3 separate regions of the Homo sapiens genome follow, and regions 1 and 2 are each linked to region 3. Evidence: promoter capture Hi-C in 16 types of primary human blood cells and fetal thymus (Javierre and others, 2016). All regions are on one chromosome and are shown on one strand. Each heading gives the region's core, a stretch centred on a gene start or on the middle of the fragment in contact. The rest is flanking DNA. Distances are from core to core; before and after follow the strand shown. Region 1 has its middle 23 kb from the start of SLC28A2-AS1. Region 2 has its middle 14 kb from the start of BLOC1S6. Region 3 holds the start of COXFA4L3 (cytochrome c oxidase associated subunit FA4L3).

The links. The method cuts DNA at HindIII sites, captures the fragments that hold promoters and counts their contacts. A CHiCAGO score of 5 or more calls a contact.
Region 1: a contact is called between a fragment that was not itself captured here and the fragment with the promoter of COXFA4L3 in region 3, in 4 of 17 cell types (M2 macrophages, M0 macrophages, naive B cells and 1 more). The highest score is 8.2, in M2 macrophages.
Region 2: a fragment that was not itself captured here is called in contact with the fragment with the promoter of COXFA4L3 in region 3 in 16 of 17 cell types (M2 macrophages, M0 macrophages, monocytes and 13 more); the score reaches 22.2 in M2 macrophages.

What each region holds. Positions count from the first base shown.
Region 1 is chr15:45,300,779-45,304,090 of GRCh38, reverse strand. No RefSeq gene overlaps it. Among named protein-coding and RNA genes, the nearest start is that of SLC28A2-AS1, 23 kb to the right of the region's middle. The HindIII fragment of the contact is 3,550 bases long and covers 3-3,312 here.
Region 2 is chr15:45,571,535-45,574,449 of GRCh38, reverse strand. No RefSeq gene overlaps it. Among named protein-coding and RNA genes, the nearest start is that of BLOC1S6, 14 kb to the left of the region's middle. The HindIII fragment of the contact is 5,703 bases long and covers 1-2,915 here.
Region 3 is chr15:45,428,800-45,432,029 of GRCh38, reverse strand. COXFA4L3 (cytochrome c oxidase associated subunit FA4L3) reads right to left here and starts at 1,420. Exons shown (of 5, transcript NM_197955.3): 1 at 1,375-1,420; 2 at 1,198-1,260; 3 at 944-1,029. The coding sequence starts at 1,233. RefSeq lists a silencer at 1,398-1,477. The HindIII fragment of the contact is 4,531 bases long and covers 637-3,230 here.

The DNA.
Region 1 (3,312 bases), core at 528-3,027, 130 kb after region 3:
CTTAGAAGATTTCAGTACAAATTAATAGTGGACATGCAAGAATGATTCAAAAAGGAACTTAAGAAAACAGTCTCATTTATAATAGCATCCAAAAGAATAAAATATCTAGGAATAAATTTAACTAAGGAGGTGAAAGCCTTGTGCATTGAAAACTACAATACATTGCTGGAAGAAAGTTAAGAAGACATCAATAAATGAAAAGATATCTCATATTCATCTATTGGAAATTGGAATATTTAATATTGTTAAGACAGCAATGCTACCCAAAGTGATCTACATATTCAATGCAATTCCTATAAAAATTCCAATGCCTTTTTTTTTCTTGCAGAAATGGAAAAGTAGATCCTCTCAAATTCATAGGGAATTGCAAGGGGCCCTGATTATCTAAAATAATATCAAAAAAATAACAAAGTTGGAAGACTCATAGTTTCCAATTTCAAAACTTACTACATAGCTACAGTGATCAAAACAGTGTGAGGTATTGGCATAAGGACAGAGATAAACATCAATGGAATAGAATTGAGAGACCAGAAGTAAACCCATACATCTATGGACAATTGATTTTCAACAAGGGTGACAAGACCATTTGATGGGGAAGAAGTAATCTTTTCAACAAATGGTTCTGGGAAAACTGGATATCCACATCCAAAAGAATGACACTTTTTGGACCCCTACCTCACACCATATACAAAAAGTAACTCAAAATGGATCAAAAGTAACTCAAAATGGATCAAAAAAAAAAAAAAAAAAGACTGGATGTGGTGGCTCACATCTGTAAATCCCAGCACTTTGGGAGGCTGAGGCAGGTGGATCACCTGAGGTCAGGAGTTCAAGACCAGCCTGGCCAACATGGTGAAACCCTGTCTCTACTAAAAATACAAAAATTAGCCGGCATGCTGGTGAATGCCTGTAATCCCAGCTACTTGGGAGGCTGAGGCAGGAGAATAGCTTGAACCCAGGAAGCAGAGAGGCTGCAGTGAGCTGAGATCACGCCATCATGCTCTATCCTGGGCAACAGAGCCAGAGCGAGACTCTGCCTCAAAAAAAAAAAAAAAAAACCTAAATGTAGAAACAAAAACTACTAAACTCTTAGAAAAAAGGATCAAGGTAAATTTTTATCAGTTTGGATTTGGCAATGAATTCTTAGATATGGCACCAAAAGCACAAGCAATAAGAGAAAAAAATAGGTAAAATGGACTGTGTCCAAATTTAAAACTTTTATGTCAGGACATTACCAAGAAAGTGAAAAGACAACCTAAAGAATGGGACATTTGCAACTCATATATTTGCTAAGTGCCTGGTATCAAAAATATATTTTTTAAAACTCTTACAGCTCAACAGAAAAAAACAAGCAACTCAGTTTAAAAATGGGCAGAGTGCTTAAGTAGATATTTCTTCAAAGAAGATATACCAGTGAGCAACAACCACATAAAAAGATGCTCAATGTCATTCGTCATTAGGGAAATGTAAATCAAAACCACAATGAGATACCACTTCAAACCCACTAGGATTGCTATAATTAGAAAACCAAAACCAAACAACAACAACAACAACAACAAAAAGAAAACAGTAAGTATTGCTAAGGAATTAGAGAAATTGGAACTCTTGTACATTGCTGATGGAATATAAAATGGTGCAACCATTGTTAAAAACCGTTTGGTGGTTTCTCAAAAAATCAAACAGGGAATTACCCTATGACCCAGCAATTGTACTTCAAGGTATATACTGCAAAGAATTGACAACAGATACTTAAACAAATACGTGTACATGAATGTTCACAGCAACACTATTCACAATAGCCAAAAGATGGGAACAAACCACATGTCCATAAAAGAATGAATGAATAAATAAAATGTGACATATGCATATAATAGAATATTATTCAGCCATAAAAAGGAACAAAGGACTGATACATGCTACAACATGCAGGTACCTTGAAAACATTATGCTAAGTAGAATAAATCAGACACAAAGGTCATATGTGGGTTTCATTTATATGTAATATTCAGAATAGAAAAATCTGTACAGATAGAAAGCAGATTAGTTGTTCCAGGGGCTAAAAGAGGGTAGAATGAGGAGTGACTGCTTAATGGGTAAAGCGTTGTCCTTTGGGCTAATGAAAATGTTTTGAAACTATATAGAGGTGGTACACATTGTGAGTGTTCTAAACGCCACTGAATTGTATACTTTAAAATGATTAATATGGCCGGGTGCGGTGGCTCATGTCTACAATCCCAGCACTTTGGGAAGCCAAGATGGGAGGATCCCTTGAGCTCAGGAGTCCAAGACCAGCCTGGGCAATGTGGCGAAACCCTGTCTCTACAGAAAATACAAAAGTTAGCACATAGTGGCACACAACTGTGGTACCAGCTACTCTAGGGCTGAGGCAGGAGGATTGCTTGAGCCTGGGATGTTGAGGCTATAATGAGCTATGGCCCCACTACACTCCAGCCTGAGTGACAGAGAGAGACCTTGCCTCAAAAAATAAAATGATTAATATTATGCTACGAATGTCATGTCAATTAAAAAAAAAAGAGTGAAGAAAATGCCGAAGGACCTATTTTTTTAAAGCCTTAAAAGTAGAGAAAAATAGAGTGAAGCAAATTCAAATACAAAGCCAAAACAAAACAAGGGTGTATAACACTGAGAATTTCACCCTGAAAATAAAAATGGATATGGACACTAACAAGTAAAAAAGATAGAGTATACACAATCACAAAAAAAGCAAATCAAAAAATTTTTTGTGAGCAGTACTCTGGGAATGCTGACTGAATAGATGAAACTCGTAACTGTTATTTTAAAAATTTCACTGCGATGCTAAAGGGCAGGAAACCTAGACAAAATAGAGATAGGGAAGAAGCCTGCTTTCCTGAGAACCTAGAAAGTTAAAAGTGATATCTTGGCTTGAAATGGATACAGCATAGACTAGAAGAGAAAAATCATCCTAAGGATCAGGACCTACAGGAAAGACATTATATTAAGAGATAGGAAGGAAGACAGTGAATGCCTAACATAGACTGAAGATTGGGGGCCTTGAGTAGTAGGGAATACAAGACATAAAACCCAGAAGTGCCAGCCATTGATATCCCAGTAATTTCCAGCTTTACATCCCAAATTCTTCCCATCCCTGCCTAGTAGCCTATTCCACAACAGTCATGGCAAAATCTACTGCTACAGCCAAGGCTTTAAGGTCAGCATTCTTTAACTCCTAGTTTAGCAGGGAAGCTCAAAATATAAATTTTTCTTGAAACTAAAGTACTCTATTGGACCAGCCAGAGGGGATGAGCTTAAGATGGGGAAGTAGATTTATGT
Region 2 (2,915 bases), core at 177-2,676, 140 kb before region 3:
CATGCTCAGGGCAGTGCTGACACACCAGCCCCCAGCCACATCAGTCCCCTCCAGACTTTGGGTGATGAGGATCATGGGAGGGAAGCCGAGGGGGACTGCACGTAGCTCAACACTGGCCTGCAGGCACCTCTTGGCACAAACATCCTGGGTGCCAATGAATGGCCGTGAGAGGCAGACAGGCTCCTGGGAGGAAGGGGGTGGGTCCCCAGTGAAGCTCCACTTTCAGGCCAGGGAAGGTCCTACCAGTCCTGCCCACCAGAGGGGGAACTTGTGGTGCTTTTTCCTGAGCCCACCTATTGCTGCCCATGGACCAATCAGCATATACTTTCCCCACTCTGAATGAAAACCATAAAAACCCCAGACTCAGCCAGAGCAGGGCAGACATCAGGATGGCCAGCTGCATAGAGGAACTACCATCTCCGCTGAGAGATGAACATTTTTGGGGATGACCTGTCAGCAGAGAGGAGCCATCCACTCCAGGCCTCCTCTCTGCTGAGAGCTGCACACTCGATGGGACGACCTGCCCACAGAGAGGACCTGCTCACCGCGGGTCTCCTCTGAGCTGTTCTGACCCTCAGTAAAGTTCTTCTTCGTCTTGCTCACCCTCCACTTGTCTGCATACATCACTCTTCCTGGACATAGGACAAGAACTTGGGCAAAGGCACCACCACCCACAGAGGTTTCCAGCCAGAAAAGCAGCACCTCAAATATCCCAAGAAAAGAAATAGCAAAGGGCTAAAGTCAAAAGATTTGTTTCAAGCCCAGCTAAGATAATCATTAGCTGTATTAGATTTTTGTCTAACCAACTAGCAAGTAGAGAAGTCCAGACCTTCCTAAACAAACAAAGGAAGTTTTGATCAACTGAGCTTGAAAGTCCGGGGGCTGCTCTGGCTTCAAGGATTTCTATGTCTTCTCCTCAGCCAAAATAGGAATCTCTCCCTCTCTCTCCCTTTGATTCTCCACTCTGCTTTCTCCTATGTAGCATTCACTCTAGGAGCTCTCTCAATGTGATAGGAAAATAGCTCCAGGGTTTCATGATCCTTACATCTCCCAAGTGAAGTCAGTGCGCTCCTAGCATTCATTTATTTCAATCCCTTAAAAAAAAAAAAAAAAAAACTCAAAGCCAGGCACAGTGGCTCACACTTGTAATCCCAGCACTTTGGGAGGCTGAAGCAGGTGGCTCACTTGAGGTCAGGAGTTCAAGACCAGCCTGGCCAACATGGTGAAACCCCGTCTTTACAAAAAATACAAAAATTAGCCAGGTGTGGTGACGCATGCCTGTAATCCCAGCTACTCGGGAGGCTGAGGTAGGAGAATTGCTTGAACCCAGGAGGCAGAGGTTGCAGTGAGCCAAGATTGCACCACTGCACTCCAGCCTGGGCAACAGAGCAAGACTCCATCTCAAAAAAAAAAAAAACACTCAAATACTTGGATTACATGCCCACCCGTATACCAATCTCTGCATCTAGGGGAATATAGTGGACCCTGATGGGTCAGTGTGGGTCACACATAACAGACAGAGGCAGAGCCCCTTGACTGACAGACCTGCTAGGAGTTATAGAAAGGCACTGGGTAGTTCCTTAAAGGAAAAATCAGAGTCCTATTACCAAAAAGAGGAAGGAAATTGGCCCAACCAAAACAACAGATGTCAACTATATCAGTTATGAGATTTTAGTCAAGTCACTTACTCTCTGAACCTGTGTTTTTTTCATCAGTAAAAGAGGCATGATAATGATAATACCAGACCCATTACTCGGTGTAGTTCTTGTAAGAATCAAGCACGCATTATATGAACAGGATTTGTAAACTGCTGCAAGACACTATTGTAAATAATAGCACCCACTAAACGAGCATTTATTATGGCTAGAAGAAATAGTATTATTTCTGTTATTAGTGCCTTGGATACATATATTCACTAACCTTAATGTGATCTCTTAAATAGACTTTAGGTTTCCTAAGTAACCATTCAACCTTAATTTGGCTTCTTATGTAGACTTCTCTGTTGAAATAAGAGGGACTAAATGACTTAAATGAATATCGGAGGGCTTGGCAATTCTATGTTTTATTAAAATTCATTTCTTTTATACAAATCAACTTCATACAATAGGCAGTTTTTTAGTGGTTAATATCAACTGGTTAAGCTGGCAACTGAAGTTGCAAACCTGCAAAATTAGAAGATCAAGCTGTGAGGGATAGAGAACATCACCAATACCAGTGTTCTGCTTCTATTGGCAGGTGGGGAATCTTTTTTATTTTTTATTTAGTATTATCAAATCTGACAGTAAATGAATATCCGTAATATTGAGTGTTAATCATTTGAAATAGTATCAGTGTTTTTGAACTATTAGTAAAACTAGTCACAAATGATGATTCATTCAAATAACTTTAAATATTATTCAAAAGACAGCGATTCTTCTTCCACTTTGGGGTTTTCACAAAATTCATTTGTTAATCTTACATGTAGATATCAAAGTAGCCATCAGTCATTATTACTTTATTCTCTATGTTATGGAAAAAGTGTGATTTTAATGACCATAGGCATCATATATTATTCCAGGACTCAGCTTTCCTTTTAGGATAGATTTATTTAAATTAGCTAGGAGATAGATCATGCTTCATTTAAAATTGCTAAAATAAGTACTTGCATTAGCTATGCAAAATAGTCCTTTTTTTACTTAAAATGTTCTCTTCAAAGTGTTTCAGTTGCTAAATGTGAATTATTTCCAAAGATTCTCCAGACCAAAAGGTGAGATGATATTTTAAAAATTCAATTTCCTTATAATGTAATGAGGTCAATAATACAAAGAGTTCAGAGTCTCTGATTCCTTTTTCAGTTTAAAAATGCCAGTGGATCAAGTAATTTCTAAATTATTGCCCTAGTCTTTGGACTTCCTATAAATTTCTTGTCAACATTT
Region 3 (3,230 bases), core at 171-2,670:
TTAAACCAACACTGATACTGGGTTTATAAACATGTTAGGGACAAAACCAGTCTCATACTAAGGCATGTGTCTGCTAATGATCAGGAACCATCAGTAGCAACTAAAATTGATTGAAAATTCTCTAAGGGAGTTTCATGGTGTGGCTCAAACATTAAACATCAGTTCCCCTAAAGGGTAGGAGGTCTGTATTCTCTTGATTGGGCTGCATTGGGGAAGGATCCCACAAACCAAATAACCATGGGAGTGAAACTGCCAAGCCAAGGACATGCAATAATGTTCTTATCTCAGTCTGTGGGAGGGGCAGGTTGAACTCTGCAGGTGGTGAACTCCAGGGCTCTAGGCTCCTCTGCCAGCGGTTAGAGGACTGCCCTCTCCAGCCCTGCACCAGCCTCCAACAGTTTCAAGTTTATCTTTTCCTCATATTCCAGGATACATGTTTTTGTTTTTTACTTTCTTCTACCCAAAGTTGAGATTAGGTTCATCGTAGACAACTGAATCTATCAATTCTACCACATTAGTAAAAATCTAATAAGCTAAAATTTAAAATTTTAATTAAAATGATTGTTTCATGATATATATCTCCCAAAACCACTGAAGAACTTTAAATTTCAAAACTTAAAAAAAAAAAAACAAGCTTTACTTCACTGCCAGAGAGTGGAGAAGGGCCAATGGGTAAAAGAATAAACACAAGAAATAAACTAATTTGATTAATATCATGGGTTTTTTTAAATTTTTTCTTTTTTTTTTCTAATTTTCATTTTCTGACCCATTGGTAGACAATATCATAAGAGTTTTCTGATAAAAGATGCTTTTTAACCCTGACTCCCAGTTCACAATTTGGCATTCTCATCCATGGGAAAAAAATAGGAAACTTATACATTTCATAAACTAAAAGTCATCCAAACACTGCCAAAAACGTTTTTATAAATTGAGACCTACTTACATCACATCGGTTTTCCAAAGAGAATACACAGCGAAAGATGAGGCTCCACCCGCCGCCACAGTCATGAACACCACCAAGGGAATGAGCTAACAAATAACAGGTGGAGGGGACACATTTGGACACTTCAATATGAAACATTTGAAACACAGCAAAACAACTGTATTTATTTTATACTTTGTTCAAAATCTGTGCCATCTTTTCATCTTTAAAAATGAAAACTTTAGTCAAGATTTTCAATTGTTTTTAAAACTTACTTCCTTCCTTTTCATCAGGAGTTGGAAAAAGCTCATGATGACTTCAGCGAAGAATTGCCAAATCTAGAAATTAAAAATCCAAAGTATTGATCGCCTGGTGGGCGCCAAACCGTCCACCGCGCTCCGCAGGCCAACTGCGGGCCGGCGCGTCCGCGTCTCTGCAGATGGGAGACTCACCTGGACGCCGGGCGGTGCGCACGGACGATGGTAACGCCCGGAACCGAACGGGCCGGCGGCCTCCCCACCTTATATATAGCGACCACAACCGCCCCGGGTGGGCCGGGCCAGCGCGCTCTGGTCACGCGCGTGGGGCGGGGAGCGCGAGGGACCTGACTCGCTTTCCCCGTTGGGCACGCGACTCCCGGGCGCCCCCTGCAGGACATTCTGCGGCTGACGTGAAGCGCCCGAACGCGGGCGCTGGCGCCCCCTGCCGCTCGCCGCGGTCTTCCTTACCTGCCGACCCCGGTCGCTCTTGGCCCCCCTAGGTGCTTGTGAGGAGTTTGGAGGTTTGGGGAGTAGGAGGTGGAACCCCCTAAGAGGGGAGCGCAGATAGCCGAGGCCTGAGGGAAAGCCAACCCTTCTAAAAGGGTATCCGGGCCTGGCGCGGTGGCTTAGGACTGTAATCCCAACACTTTGGGAGGCTGAGGCAGGAGGATCACTCGAGTCCAGCCTGGCCAACGTGACGAAACCACGTCTCTACTAAAAAAAATTAGCGGGCGTGGTGCTGCATGCCTGCAGTCCCAGCTACTGAGGAGGGCGAGGCAGGAGAATCGCTTGAGTCCAGGCCTTTGAGGTCGCAGTGAGCCAAGATTACACCACTGTATTCCAGCCTGGGCAACAGAGCGAGACCCTGTTTTAAATAAAATAGAATAAAACAAAATATTTAAATAAGCAAATAAACAATAAAAGGGGGTCCGGAAAAATGAGCTGCAGACCGGAGGGTCCCAGGAGAGGCTCCCAGGTGCAGGCGGGTAAATTAGAATTAATCCAATCACATTAAAAGCTCCAAAATGTGGTCTGTGCACCTATGGAGATCATTAAAATTAAATTGTAAAGTTTATTTCAGAATAACTCCCAGGGCGTCCTGACTTTTTCTGCTAAAAAAAAAACCCAAAAAAACAAAAACAAACAAATAAACACAATAAAACAAAAACCCGAGGTCGAGGGAGAACAAACAAAAGAATAAGCTGGGGAGGCTGTCAGGAGAAGGTCTTTCTGCAAACGACCCTGCCGGCTGGTTTAGTCTTTGGGTTCCCTCCTAACTCTCCTCTAAGCCAGCAACCTCACTTTGCAGTTTGCAGGCGGCTGCAATGGTAACAATTTCACAGAGCCAGGGGCTGTGTGTGTGCCAGACACTGAGCCAGATTCCCCTCGGCAAGGTGGGTGCAAAGTCTTATTAAGACTCAGAGAGGCTCTGGTCACGTCACTGGTAAGTGGCGGCGATGCCATCAGAACGCAGGTCTGTCTGGTGCCCAACACCATGGTTCTGTCTGCACCCCTCTGTTAAATACTGCAATAAGTAAAGGACCAGTTATTTTAAAACAAACAGTTTGAAGTTCAAGCTGTAAGTTAAAGTTAAAAGGCAACATCTTAACGTTCCCTGAAATTGGCTAGACCCTGCTGTGTTTCAACCCCATTTTCATTCTAAACCTGGGTTTTGTAGTCAAATGGACCTGAGTTCAGAGCCTGCCCCTGCTATACTTATTATTAATAGCTGACTTTAAGTAAACTACTTAACCTTCATGAGTTTCAGTTTATATATCTGCAAAATGGGGGCAAACCTGGCAGGGGAGAGAGTTGGAAAAAATGTTAGAATATATGTAAAGCATTCTGTCCTGCTTGTAGTAGGCACTCAACAAATAGTTACTATATGCAAAGATTTGGTTTTTTGTTTGTTTTGTTTTTTGAGCCAGAGTCTCGCTCTGTCACCCTGGCTGGAGTGCAGTGGTGTGATCTCGGCTCACTGCAACCTCTGCTTCATGGGCTAAAGCGACTCTCATGCCTCAGTCTCCTGGGCATCTGGGAATACAGGC